2 separate regions of the Homo sapiens genome follow, and region 1 is linked to region 2. The links are contacts of gene promoters, found by promoter capture Hi-C in human tissues and cell types (Jung and others, 2019). All regions are on one chromosome and are shown on one strand. The core of a region is centred on a gene start or on the middle of the fragment in contact, and the rest is flanking DNA. Distances in the headings are between cores, read along the strand shown. Region 1 overlaps TAF3 (TATA-box binding protein associated factor 3). Region 2 holds the start of TAF3 (TATA-box binding protein associated factor 3).

What was found. The method cuts DNA at HindIII sites, captures the fragments that hold promoters and counts their contacts. A contact is called where the count stands out against the background at its distance.
Region 1: a contact is called between a fragment that was not itself captured here and the fragment with the promoter of TAF3 in region 2, in 1 of the 25 tissues and cell types used here (mesenchymal stem cells).

The regions. Positions count from the first base shown.
Region 1 is chr10:7,960,305-7,967,571 of GRCh38, forward strand. TAF3 (TATA-box binding protein associated factor 3) reads left to right here. Exons shown (of 7, transcript NM_031923.4): 3 at 3,616-5,438. Among named protein-coding and RNA genes, the nearest start is that of GATA3-AS1, 90 kb to the right of the region's middle. RefSeq lists silencers at 1,686-1,850, 6,782-7,076. The HindIII fragment of the contact is 3,290 bases long and covers 1-3,184 here.
Region 2 is chr10:7,814,136-7,821,652 of GRCh38, forward strand. TAF3 (TATA-box binding protein associated factor 3) reads left to right here and starts at 4,370. Exons shown (of 7, transcript NM_031923.4): 1 at 4,370-4,740. The coding sequence starts at 4,575. It overlaps LOC105376392 (a long non-coding RNA gene), which reads right to left and starts at 4,228. Exons shown (of 3, transcript XR_001747356.1): 1 at 4,117-4,228. RefSeq lists enhancers at 4,046-4,564, 4,377-4,436, 4,565-5,082. The HindIII fragment of the contact is 13,699 bases long and covers 1-7,517 here.

The DNA of each region.
Region 1 (7,267 bases), core at 290-2,789, 140 kb after region 2:
AGCGAGGGAGGGAGGGAAAAGTTTAGATGAGCTGAATGTGGTAGGTCTAGGACAGGGGTCAGCAAACGTTTTTTTGTAAAGAGCTGGATAGTAAATATTCTAGGCTTTCTTTGTTGCATGTATAACTGGAACACAGTAGACCCCAAAGGGAGTACGTGGTTATTTCTAGTTGCTAAGAGAAGGCATTACAGAATAGGTAATACTTGAGAGCCTTAGAAGTCGCCAACATGTTAGGAAGGAAAAGACATTTCAGGCACGGGGAATCGCATGTGCAGAGGTACAGGAGTGTGACCACATATTTGGGGATTGCAGATAAGTTAGCATGGCTGGAATGGGTAGAGCACGCAGGGGCTCACTGTGAATGATGAGGTTACTTCCCTAGCTTAGAGGGAGCACCTTGTCAGTCATACTGGAGAAATTGGATTTTTATATTTTATTTTTTCCTCCAATTTCCCAGATGGAGAGGATTTTTGTATTTTAGAATAGTGATTTTCAAACATGTTTTAGCCTCACAACAAAAGCTTTTGTGGAAGCTCTGCATGTAAAATAGATAACCCCAGGCATAACTCTTCCGTGTAATAAAGAACAGCCGTTTCTACTGTGCAGTAGCCTCAGAAGGGGTTCTACAAACCCTCAATTTCCAAGGGATGCCTTTTACAAACTGCTTCTGAAGGAAGCAATGAAAGGTTTTTAAGATGAGGAACCACAAGCTCAGATTTGCGTGTTCGGAAGATCACCGTAAGACGACGTGAGAGATGGTTCTGAGAAAGCTGCACTGGAGGCCGAGACTAGGTAGAAGGTCCTTGCAGCCATACAGAGAAGAGGTGCTGAATATTGATATTAACAAGACAGAAGCAGGGGGAAAGCACATGAAAGCAAACAGAGTTGAAAACTTGTGCTGTCAATTCAGATCTGGCGGAGAAGATGGGAGAGAATCTAGAATGACCCCAGGTTCCTGACTTGGGACCTGGTGGGTGATGCCATCATTATCGCGAATCGGTAGCATAATTGATGAGGTTGTGATGTTCTTTATGATTTACTAAGTACTTCCCCATGCATCATCTCACGCGTTCTCCATCTGTGCATCCTTCATGCTTTTGCAGCATGGCTTCTGCTGTTGGCCTCATCCTCGTTGACCTCTTAAGCATTTGGCTTTGTTCACCTGCCTTCTGCATAAAACTCTTGCTCCCTTGATCTCTTTGACATCTGACCCTCCATGTATTTCTTTAGTTCTTCTTCCTTTTCTTTTTATATATAGGTATTCCTCAAAATACCTGAACCTGTTTCCTCTTGTTTCTTCCTTGTTCATATCATCCATCATGGTGACTTTAGTTATCTCAACAACACTCTTTCTCTCATGCACTCTGTCCTGTTTTCTGATCATCTGTATTATATTTCAGCTGCCGAGTAGGCATTGCAGACTAAATGTTCATCAAACTCTGTGTCTAGGGATTGAGCTAATAATCATTGTCCTTTTCTATTTCCTTATTTCCTGTTTCTGTTCATCACTACATTTATCACTCACCAAGGCTCAAAGCTTTCTTTCCCTTTTTTTTTTCTTTAAAAATAGGGTCTCGCTCTGTCGCCCAGGCTGGAGTGCAGTGGCGCAATCATGGCTCATTGCAGCCTCAACCTTCTGGGCTCAGGTGACCCTTGCACCTCAGTCTCCCAGGTAGCTGGGACTACAGGCACGCACCACAACACCCAGCTAATTTTTGTATTTTTTAGTAAAGATGGGGTCTCACTATGTTGCCCAGGCTGGTTTCAAACTCCTGGGCTCAGGTAATCCTACTCCCTCGGCCTCCCAAGATGTTGGCATTACAGGCATGAGCCACCATGCCTGACCAGGCTCAAAGCTTTGAAATTGTGTTTGAGTCCTTGCTCAAGTCTTATACCCTAATCATTTATCAGATTCTATCCATTCTATCCTCAGAATATCCTTCACCTCTGCTGCTTCCTGATCATTTCCACTGTTCTAGCTCTGACCCTTACTGCCTCTCACATCACTTCAGTAATCCATGTTATTGCTCTCCTTCAGTACCCATCACCTCCCACCCTCATCCATCCTGCGTGTTCCTGCCAGTGTGACTTTTCCCAACACATACCCCACACGTTTTTCTCTGTTGTCTAAAATCCTTCTAGGTCCAAACTACCAGTAGAATAAAGATTATGTTTCTTTTTCTGGAATTCAAAAGTCCTAGGATCTGGATGCAATTTTACTAAACCTGCTTCCTACTGCTCCCCACCTTGCACTCTACTTTCCAGACAAATAATTTTCTGTTTCTCTTACACTCCCCGTGTTTCACCTTCATCTATTTGTCATCTGACCCTTTGTCCTGGACTTCACCACTTCCAGTCTCCAACTATCCCAAACGCTGCATAATTAATCAAGCCTCCTCCGCATGATTGACCTCGCTGAGATCTGTCTCTCCTTTGACCTGCTGTAGCACTTTATCTGTCTGTGGCACTGATCACTTTCTGTGGGCTAGACATATCTGTTATTGCTGCACTAAACTGTGAGCTCTTTTAGTTGTGATTTATTTCTGATTTATTTCAGTGGCTCTTTTAGACTTTATCATTGTACATTATATGCTTAGTTAAAATGTGTTGGGAGAAATAATCTGATCTTAGAAAAACTCAGCCAAGTAGGCAGGGCAAGTAACATCGGCTCCTTTTTGAAAGATTAGGAAACAGGCTCAGAGAGGTTGAGAGAGTCCCTAAGGCTGGTTGCTCTCTAGTGCCGTAACTCTAGCCGAAAAACCATTTGTCAAGTGCCTAAACCAAGTGTATTTCATTGCACCATACTCCCTCTCCAAGTGGCTCACATCAAGCAAGCAAAATAGAAGACATAAGTAGTATATGAATTTGTCATAAAAGTCCTAAAAATACCTGTCATTCCTGATAATAATAATAATCCATACTAAGTCCTATAATAATCCATCTCTTGATTTTTTAGAGGGTGTGTGGGTGCGCACGTGTGCTTCTATGTGCATGAGAGAGAGATAGAGAAAGATGGCATTTACTGGTTAGGAAAATAATTAATTCAGGAAACAACAGAAGGCCAACTGGAAATACCGAGCAATTTCCAGATCCTGAGGTTAGGGCCAGACCATGTGAAAGGACAATGATCAATTTGTACATCTGCTGTTACTGACTGCCACTCTTTTAAGAATGATGGCACACATGTTTGGAAGATCCTTGAAAACTAACTTACTTTTTAAACACTGTCAATAATTTCCTTTTTTTTTTAGAAATCATGTTTGAACGCCGCATGTTCTCACTCATAAGTGGGAGTTGAACAGTGAGAACACATGGACACAGAGGGAGGGGAACATCACACATCGGCACCTGTTGGGAGGTCGGGGGCTGGGGGAGGGATAGCGTTAGGAGAAATACCTAATGTAAATGATGAGTTGATGGGTGCAGCAAATTAACAGGGCACATGTATACCTGTGTAACAAACCTGCATGTTGTGCCCATGTACCCTAGAACTTAAAGTATAATAATAAAAAAGAAAGAAAAAAGAAATCATATTTGAAGCATTGTTTTTATTTCTTAGGTTTTGTTACATTCCAATAATATTTATTTTTTTCTTCCTTTTTCTTCCTTTACCAGAAGAAGAAGAAGAGCAGGTGCCCACTGATGGAGGCACATCAGCAGAAGCCATGCAGGTTCCCTTGGAAGAAGATGATGAATTGGAGGAGGAAGAAATTATTAATGATGAGAATTTCCTGGGCAAGAGACCACTGGATAGTCCTGAAGCTGAAGAACTGCCAGCCATGAAGCGGCCTCGGCTATTAAGCACTAAAGGGGACACGCTAGATGTTGTGTTATTGGAAGCTCGAGAGCCACTCAGCTCAATAAATACTCAAAAGATCCCACCAATGCTTTCTCCAGTCCATGTACAGGACAGTACAGACTTGGCACCTCCCTCACCCGAGCCGCCAATGTTGGCTCCAGTTGCAAAATCACAAATGCCAACTGCAAAACCATTAGAAACAAAGTCATTTACACCTAAAACAAAGACTAAAACTAGCTCTCCAGGACAGAAGACTAAATCACCTAAAACCGCCCAGTCACCAGCAATGGTCGGAAGTCCTATTCGATCACCAAAAACTGTATCCAAAGAAAAGAAATCACCTGGACGTTCCAAGAGCCCCAAGAGTCCCAAGAGCCCCAAGGTCACGACTCACATTCCCCAAACACCTGTGAGACCTGAAACGCCCAACAGGACTCCTTCAGCTACACTCAGTGAAAAAATCAGTAAAGAGACTATCCAGGTAAAACAAATACAGACACCCCCTGATGCTGGGAAACTGAACAGTGAGAATCAGCCGAAAAAGGCTGTGGTAGCAGATAAAACGATTGAGGCCTCTATCGATGCTGTGATTGCACGAGCCTGTGCTGAGCGAGAGCCAGATCCTTTCGAATTTTCTTCTGGATCGGAATCTGAAGGAGACATTTTTACTAGCCCTAAGAGAATTTCAGGCCCGGAGTGTACTACTCCCAAAGCTTCCACTTCCGCGAACAATTTCACAAAGTCAGGATCCACTCCTCTGCCTCTTTCCGGTGGAACCTCAAGTTCCGATAACTCATGGACAATGGATGCCTCCATTGATGAGGTTGTACGTAAAGCAAAACTGGGAACACCTTCAAATATGCCCCCCAACTTTCCTTATATCTCTTCTCCGTCAGTGTCTCCTCCCACTCCCGAACCTCTCCACAAGGTGTATGAGGAGAAAACCAAGCTGCCTTCCTCCGTGGAGGTAAAGAAGAAGTTGAAAAAGGAACTAAAGACTAAAATGAAAAAGAAAGAAAAGCAGAGAGATAGGGAGAGGGAAAAAGACAAGAACAAGGACAAAAGTAAGGAGAAGGATAAAGTGAAAGAGAAAGAGAAAGACAAGGAAACTGGCAGGGAAACAAAGTATCCCTGGAAGGAATTTCTTAAAGAGGAAGAGGCAGATCCCTACAAGTTTAAAATCAAAGAATTTGAAGATGTTGATCCCAAAGTGAAATTGAAAGATGGACTTGTGAGGAAGGAGAAAGAGAAGCATAAAGATAAGAAGAAAGATAGAGAGAAAGGCAAGAAAGATAAAGATAAGAGAGAGAAAGAAAAAGTGAAAGATAAAGGCAGAGAAGATAAGATGAAAGCCCCAGCACCCCCACTGGTGTTGCCCCCAAAAGAGTTGGCCCTGCCCTTGTTCAGCCCTGCCACAGCCTCCAGGGTCCCAGCCATGCTGCCATCTTTGTTGCCAGTGCTTCCGGAAAAACTGTTTGAGGAGAAAGAGAAGGTGAAGGAGAAAGAAAAGAAAAAGGACAAAAAGGAGAAGAAGAAAAAGAAGGAAAAAGAGAAGGAGAAGAAGGAGAAGGAAAGAGAGAAAGAGAAGAGAGAGCGAGAGAAGAGAGAAAAAGAGAAGGAGAAACACAAGCATGAAAAAGTAAGCAGTTTCTCATTTTTGGCCCTATCTGAACAGAGTCCTAGTGAGAAACACAGGTAAACAAAGCCCACAATTATATCTGTATTCTGGGTGTAAATCACCCATCACTTAAGTGGAAATATGTTTATAATGAGGTTACAAAATTTGATTTTAATTCTAAAACCCATAAACCTGTAATCAAGCCCTCAACACACTAGCAGATGTTAAAAATTCATAGCCTAAGAGGCATCTAATCACAGACTATAAACTCTCTATTAGCTATAGTGATCTCTGGCAGCTTAAAAAAAACAAATCTGGGTTCTTAAATTGTGAATAATATTTATGTGAATTATCAAGTGTACTGCATTATATTTTGCACCCATATATTGAGAAAGGCAGCATCCATGTTTCTAAAAGCATGCAAAACCACGGCACTATTTTAAGAGGACAGCAAGGCCCGTGGAAGGACCACTGCCTTGGTTTTCTTTTTGGTGCGCCATTTTGGCATGTGTTTAGGATTATGCCTGTCTACAGAACTTTCCGTAGCATCTTTTATTCCTTCCGTTTTCTGCTTTAATAAGATAAGGGCACATTTCTGAGTATCTAGGCTGATCTGGCAGCCTGGTGAGTGGGCAGAAAGTAATCCCACATGGCAGAAATGTTTGACCATCTCAGTAAGTCAGACTTCATTTCATAGCATACAGCCCGACAAACTGATAGAAACCCCGCAGTTTTGTAGGCATTGGGGCCTCAGTCCTCAGGCTGTGACCTCTGCTTACCCAGCTTTGCTTTTCAGTCTGTGGTTTCTTGGATTACAGCAGCCGGCTGGGTTATTTGAAAATTTCTCATAAACTTTCCGAAAAAGTATCTCTTCATAGTGCCACCCCAGAGCTCCTGATGATCCTTTCCCTGCCCTCTAAAAGTTATCTTCTTTGAGCTTGGCCACAAAATAATACCCAGTAGTTTTGTTCATATGATAAAATTTGATGTATTTGACCTGCAGCAGATATATTACCAATAAATTCGGAGTATTTTTAACTTCAAACTTACCTAGAAAACTGAGTGTATTTGACAGCAGTAATGGCAACTCCCATTTTTCGCCTACCTTGATTTGTTCTTTGTTCTCTTTGGCTATCCTAAAATATAAAAAAGTGAAATGGGAATTCTGATATCAATAACTGAACATTGACAAGTTAACAAGACACAGAAATCCAACTCTTATTTCCATTTAAAAAATCATTTTATTTATTATTATGCAATTTCTATATAGTAGTTGTCAGGTTTTAAAGCAGATCCATACACCTTGTTTTCTCCTCCTAACACACCTGTGACATAGGTCCAGCAGGTATTATCATCGATATTTATGGAAGAGAAACTGAGCCTGAGAGAGTGACTTGTCCAAGATCAGGATGACACAGCTAGCAAGAGCCAGGTCAGTTACACTGCAGAGAGACTTCACGTGGTGAGGGGTTTGTTGTTAGAGATACTGCCTGACAGCAGTTAGTCATTTATCCCTTGTGTACCTAGTAAGTTGGCAGCTGAGCCCTCAGTAAATCAAACAGGGGACTGTTCCTGTCACCACCATCTTCACTTTGGAAAGTCAGTGGAGTTGTTTCAACAGCCATTATGAATTTGAGTGAAGCCATCAGATTAGGTTTGTAACAGCAGTCCCATGCCTTTCTACAGCATCTACCTGACTTTAGGGAAGAAAAGTCCCCCAGACCACCTTGGTGGAAGGCAAAGGCTCAGTCCCTCGAAGCACAGAGTCCACCTGAGAGAAAGATACATGTTCTTGGATCAGTTTTGCTGGGCTATGGAGCAGGTACATGGCAAAAGATAAAAATGTAGAA
Region 2 (7,517 bases), core at 3,120-5,619:
TGCTGCAGCACCAAACGGCGAAGGTAATGATCCCCCCACTCCTTTTGCAAAAGAACCTACGACCATTACTCAGGTAACGGTCCACTGGGGAAAGGGAAACCCACACATTTTGAGGAAGCTGAGAATGAAACCAGGAGATGCGGAGTCATCACGAGTCCCTTGTCAGAGTGGGGGCATCTGAGGCCAAGTGGCACCTGGAGTCTTGGCCCAGGCTCAGCTCACACTTAGACCTACTCAGTGGCCAATTCCCTGATTCCTGAATGTGTCACTGGAACAGACATACTGGGATGTTGGCACAACCCCTACGCTGGTTCTTTGGCCCATAGGTAAGAACTTTGGGCATGGGAGGGTTGAGGAGATGACTTTGAAACTGCCCCTGCAGCTGGGGCGGGGTGGGCAGAAATCATGACCTAAAGGATGCTGAGGCTGTGGGTCACTATATTTTCATTTCATCTGACAGTCTGGCTCCTGCAAATATGAGATGCATCTTGAAGGGTGAGAGTGAACTGTTGTAAACTTAGCCAAGTAGTAACCCTGGTTGCAGTTGCTGTGCCAGATGTGGTGTCTTTGCTAGAACAGATAGACATTGTCTCAAGCATATGGCATGCGGTCATTGGCTGGTGAAAGTTGTCTTTTCCATCCCAAACAGAAAGGATCAGAAATAGTTTCTATTCAGTTGGAACAGGCAACAGTATACATTTTGGTCTTGTCCTAGAGCTATGTTAATTCTCTCACCCTGTGTCATCATACACAGACGGTCCCCAACTTAACGATGGTTTAATTTATGATTTTCAACTTTGCGATGGTACAAATGGAATATGCATTCAGTAGAAACCACACTTTGAATTTTGATCTTTTCTCAGGCTAGCAATATGTGGTACCATGCTCTCTCATGATGCCGGACACAGGCTGTGAGCCACAATTCCTAGTCAGCCATGTGATAACGAGGGTAAACATTCATTGTGATAAGAAATAGATATATACTCTGGGTATGGATTTGCCTTTCCTGCTCATCTTGTTTGAGCCACTGGGTTCCCATATCACGCTATGTCAGCCTAAGGGGCCCATTTTACAATAAAGGAAACGTGGGAGTGGGCACAAGGCTATGAAACCCACGGGTCATATCATACACCACACCACTCAGAAGCTGTCAGCCTGGCAGAGCAATGGAATAGACTTTTTTAGGCACAATGAAAGCACCAGCACACAGGCAATACCTTCTGAGGATGGGCCTGATCCCCTAGGCTGCTGTGCACTCTTTAAGCCAACAACCTTTTTTCTTTTTGTAGAGACAGGGTCTCACTGTTGCCCAGGCTGGAGTGCAGTGACTCGATCATAGCTCGCCGTAGCCTCAAACTCCTGGGCTCAAGTTATCTTCTGGCCTCTGCCTCCTGAGTAGCTGGGGCTAATTTCTTTATATATATATATATATATATATATATATATATATATTTTTTTTTTTTTTTTTTTTTTTTTTTTTTGTAGAGATGGGGGTTTCACTATGCTGCTAGGGCTTGTCTTGAACTCCTGGCCTCAAGCCATCTACCTGCCTTGGCCTCTCAAAGTATTGAGATTAAAGGCATGAGCCACTGTGCCCCACCAAGTCAATGACTTCTGTGATGCTGGGTTCCCAATAAGTAGATGACACAGGGTGGAGACTGGGGTTTCTCCACTTACATCACTCCCAGGGACCCACCTGGGAAATTGTTCTTCCTGTCCTGCCACTCTGGGTTCTCCAGGTTTACAGATCCCATTTCCAAAAGGGGGAATGCTTTCACCAGAGGACCTAGCAGGAGTCCCACTGAAACATTAGCTACAGTTGCTGCCTGGGCACTTCCACTGAGACTGCAGCTAAGAGAGGAGTCATCTTTAGGAGGGGGATGGGCTCCTATTACAGAGTGGGAGGCAAGGTGGAGTGTTTGGTTTCCACATGGTCTGTTTGGGTGCCTCTTGCCCAATTTTGGGTATTCTCTTCCCCAGTTCTGATGGTACAAGGACGAGTTCAGCAGCCACAGTCTGAAAAGGGCCTGGAAACCAGGGGCTCAGACCTGCACATGAGGGTCTGCATCATGCCACCAAATAAGCTACTGAGACCAGAAGTGAGAGAAATGTAGGCCTGAGGAGGAGAATACTGAGTATCAGCTGAGGCCTGGCTGCAGCAGTCGGGGCTCTAATTTGTCTCCTGACCTTCCTCTTTAATGTTTTCCCCAGGGAAAGGGCCCCCTCCAGAATCCTGGAGGAGCTGTTCCTCAAACCAAGAAGTGTCTCTGAGGGTAAAATAGATGAACTGTGATGAATGCTCTAATCCACTGCTCAGAGCCCCCTCAGGACTGAAGGACTTCAGCTGTCCTTGGAATTGAATGGACTCAGCTGCAGTGTTCCTTTGCCTGAGAGCACACACCCTTTCCCAGGTAGCCCTCATGCAGTGACCTGTTCCTATGGGAATATAAAGGTCCAGTCTTCTTGTTTGGATTCAGGGAAGCTCTGAAGGGCCACTCCAGCTTCTGCACACTATGGCATTGGCTTGGCTGAGGCTTTCTTGCCAAGGAATTCACTGCACCCTGGCTTTCACTCCTTCCCCCAAGTCCCAGGAGGATCCCTCAATGAACTTTCTGCAGGCTCATCTCTATTTCAGAGTTGACTTCCTGGGGAACCAAGCCTGTGACATATGGTCTTGTGTATAGTTATGTGGGGGAATGTTCTTGTTTTGGGGTGATACATGTCGAGGTGTGGTGGGGTTAAGTGTCATGAAGTTTGCAGCTTATTTTCAAACTGCTGGAAAAAAAATACCTGCGTGCATATATAAATACAAAATATATAGTAAATTGGCAAAATGTTAACAATTGGTGAATCTAGTTGAAGTGTACACGTGAGTCTATGATTTTGTTTCAACTTTTCTGTAGGTTTGAAATTTTCCGAAATAAAATCCCCTCCCCTATACACAGAAAGGCAAATGAAGAGGAACAAACACCCAGGGTGGCGGCGGTAGCGGGACAGATTTGTGAAATCCAAGGCGCAAGAGAGTTTCAATGTTACAGAAGCGTTCAACATTATCAAATAGCTACAAAATAATCAAGTACGGCTAGGACTGAAAAATGTCTCATAGATTTAGCAACACAATGTTCCTGATAACTTGGGGACAGAGTGTCCAGGGAGTAAATGCAGGCACCTTGCCCTTTAGTACCTTGCTTCTCTGCAGATCGTCATTTAGCTGAAGAACCATAATTTCAGTTCTATTATTGAGTTTCCCAGACTTTGAAAAATGTGAATATCATGTTCAAAGTTCTGGAATAGTCCCTGTCGGAGGAATATAGAGCCACTCATAAACTCGCAATTTATTGGAGGAGCACATAAACTAAATACACTGTGATAAGTACAGAAGGGCATATTTAAGAAACCGCATAGTTCAGCCACTACAATCGGGCGACCTGCAGGCTGAATCTAGACTAACCGTGGGATCAGTTTGGCTTTTGAGATGTGTTCCCAATTCTGTATTTAAAAATCAAGATATTTATCCCTAAATCCGATTTCTGGCAATACTTGGATGGAGCTGGGAGAAGGCTCTGGGGTAGGCAACCGTTCCCAGGACACTCGGCCTGCGACACCGGTTTAAGGCTCGGTTTGGCCTCTGTAGGCAGCCGAGGTCCCCATCCCCCGATAGGTCACAGCCGCGATGCTCAAATCGCACACTATAGCCCACAGGCAGCTTACCTGTTTTTTTTAAAAAAAAAAAAAAAAAAAAAGTTTTATTGGAACCAGGGCTGGGATTAGAATGACATGAGTGAGTCAGGAGTTTATGGCATGGATTTGGATTTTTTTAAAAAAACTGTTAAAATATTATCGATCTTGATGACTGAGTTTTTTGAGGCCCCCATTAATTTGGCACAGAGTCCTCCTAGTTCCTGCCCTATTGCGAAGGGCTTTGAAGGGCATGCGGAACAGCTTGGACTTTATTTAATCTTTGCAGTGGCAAGCAGCTCAATACACAGATTTTTAGCTGAGGCAACACCAGCGCAGGTCTGCGTTTGGCGAGCTCCGTAAGTTCCCACGCCCCAAACTTCTCTCTAGCACATAACTCTCTAATATGACTAACGTTATTAGTGCTAACTCTCTAACCTGTCAATGTCGTATCCCAGATCCCTCGTTTGCCTCTAAAACACTGGCGTTTTCGTCACCGCTGTCCCCCAGGTGAGCGCCCCAGCACCTGCCGCCCTGGGCGCCTCCTCCACCTGCGCGCCCCACGCCCGCTTCCGGCCGGCTTCCAGGCCTCAGAGGCGATCCCGAGGAATCGTTCCGCTCCCAAGGGGCGGAGCTTTCTCATCGCCGCGCTCGGCATTCGGCTTATGCTGCCTCGCCCCGGCGGCCGTCCAGCGGGAGGCGGAGCGAGTCCAAAATGGCGGCTCTCAGGCTGGCGCGCTCCGTGCTGCTGGGGCTTTGAGGTGGTCGCCGGGGGTCCGGGGGACCCTTTCCCCGCCGCGGAAGCCCTAGAGGATGAATCGGGGACCCTGCTAAGGTCTGGCGGCGGGGCTGGAGAGCAGTGGCAGCAAGGGCTGCGGTGGCGTCCACGCAGCGGGATGTGCGAGAGTTACTCCAGGTCGTTGTTGAGGGTCTCGGTGGCGCAGATCTGCCAGGCGCTGGGCTGGGACTCGGTGCAGCTCAGCGCCTGCCACCTCCTCACGGACGTGCTGCAGCGCTATCTGCAGCAGCTGGGCCGGGGCTGCCATCGGTACTCTGAGCTCTGTGAGTACCGGGCTGGGTGCGGGAGGGCTGCCCCGGCAAGTCAAGGGTGACACCTTCGCTCTCCCTGTCCCTCCGCGTCCCCGGGGTGTGCATCCCGCACCCCGCCTCGAGATCTGCTGTTTCCTCGGCCTCCCACGTCCCTGGGCTTCCACTGCCGCTCCAAACTCTAGTCATCCTTCGGGTGCCTCTTCCTTATCCGCTAACTTCCCGCCACCAGCCCGGGAGTCGGGTCTTCGCTCCCAGCTCCACACCCTCCTACCGCTCCTCCGCTCTGAATTGTGTCTGGATCTCTCTCATTGTCTCCTGTTTGCTGCGGGTAGATCCACCCCCAGCGTGCCCTACACCCTCTTTTACCTCGGTCCTTTTTCTCCCTTGCCCGCAAACTACTACAACTAGTTGTCACAGGCGCTCCGTCTACCGGCCGTTTCTTACAAGACTGGCCATTCCTGGGCTCCTAACTACATAGACTCGTTGACAGCTCTGCTCCGTTAGGGACACTGCCTCGTCTTTCTGTATCTGTTCGTTTCGTGAACGACATCTCCATTTACTGTTTTTCCAAGGCTGACTTTGTCAGTTTCGCTGATTAGATGTACTTTCACTTACGTCTCGGTTACCAGTGAGATGTCAGTGGCTATCGAAGTAGGATAGAGGGACCGTGGGCAGTTGACAAGATTCTCCAGGTAATCTGGGCTACAGTACTTATGAGTTTTAAATGAATGTCTGGTAATATCTATAGCTAGTGGTATTTAATAATTTAATGGAAGGAATGGAATATTTTAATAGAAGCTCCACATTATCTTGTTGATGTGAAGCATTGTATGTGTGTTTGTTGAGGAGAGGAAACTACCACTCATTTTAGTTTCAAGTCATGATGTTTAAGGTGGTGAGCTGGAGAACTGAATGAAGTGTTTCATAGGATATTTTGTTTTGTTAAAGTGGTTCCTATACTGGAAAATTGAGACTCACAGACACACGCTGTATTTCTTAGGCCCCAAGTTTCGTTCCCGCTTCCACAGGGCTGCCAAAATAATCTGTCCATAGCACAGATCTGATCCTGTCATTATTCTTAAAAACATTTTAACTATACTTCGTTGGTTACAGGCTAAAAATCGAAACTCTTAGCAGTACACAGTTCCCTTTGTGAGCTAGCATTTTGCTTACCTTTTGCCAGCCTGCCATGCTAATCTGCGACCACGCTGAGCTACCTGCCTTTTCCAAAATGTTTTAAGCTGTCCATTCCTACATGCGTGCTGTTTCTTACCTAGAGTGTCCTTTGCCCGTGGCCCACCAATAGTATTACTTTTATTTTCAGATGCACTTATCACTTGCTCTAGGGAACTCATGTTATCTGCTTTCATAATTCTGTGCATATTTCTTTTATATTATTTGTCATCTTGTTTTGTAATCACCTGTGTATGTCTCTTTCCCCTCTCCAGGAGAAAAATTGATTATATTTGTATTCTGTAACCTGTAGGGCCATTATATAATAGGCACCTGAGAAATATTTGTTGAATAAATGAATGAACTGATAAACCACTACCCTAAAAGCCACTTATTGACTTTACATATTGAGTTCCAAAAATGTATATGTTTTGAATGCTTGATTTCACTGATACTTCTATTACTCTTCTTCTTTTGAGACAGGGTCTCACTCTGTCGCCGAGCGTGGAGTGCAGTGGTGCGATCTTAGCTCTCTATAGCCTCGAACTTCAGGGCTCAAGTGATCCTCCCGCCTCAGCCTTCCAAGTAGCTGGGACTACAGGGATACGCCACCATGCCTGGCTAATCTTTTTATTTTTTGTAGAGATGTGGTCTGGTTATATTGCTCAGGCTTGTGTCAAACTCCTGGGCTCAAGTGATCCTCCTGCCTCAGCATTTCAAAGTGCTGGGATTACAGGCATGAGCCACCATGCCCAGCTCACTGATACATCTGAATGTGGAACCACAAAGTAATATGCGTGCATTTTTATCTTGAAAGTACATCACCAGCTGACTACTCTTCTGGCTTTTGTTTCTTTTTCCTCTGGCCTCCGCTGCAGTGGTCCTTGAGTATACCGTTAGTGATAGGCTAGGCTAGGCTAGGCTAGGCATAGTCCAGATTATGTTTGCTACCATGTATCTTTAGATATTCAAAATGTCTCCTGAATACATAGTTACCTTTACTGCCATTTATACAAAACAGAAGGGAGCTGCCACTCTATGTGACTAGGTATTCCAAAGTCATCCAGGGGTCACTGCAGCTCTTCAGTGTAAACCTTGTTCCTAATTACCAAGTTTCCGTAGCCAGTTTCTTGGTTTCAGTGAGAATGAGATTGTCAGGTTCATTATTCCCACGTAATTTGGTGACTTTTTTTTAATGCTAATTTTGGTATACTTATTAGATATTTTTAGATTCTTTTTTCTATACCAGCCTTATTCTAAAATCAAATTCTGTAGCTCCAGGTTACCACTATGGAATCTTGTATTCCACCCCTTTAAATCCTTTCTGTTGTTTTAACAAACACTTACTGAGCATCACTTACGAACCAACCCCTGTACTAGGCATTGGAGACATAAAATTACTAAGATACAATCCCTGACCATAAGGTGTGTTCAAGAGTTCCAGAATGTCAGGAAACAACAAACTGATGGTGTTTGTTTCTTCTAAAAGAAATGTTCTCAAGTTAAAGCAAGTATTAGAAGTTACCATTAATTCAAATAATGAACAAATAATGAACTTAAGAATTGCCTTAGGGTAACAATGTCTCCAAGCATTCAAGGGCAGATGTCTCTGTCGG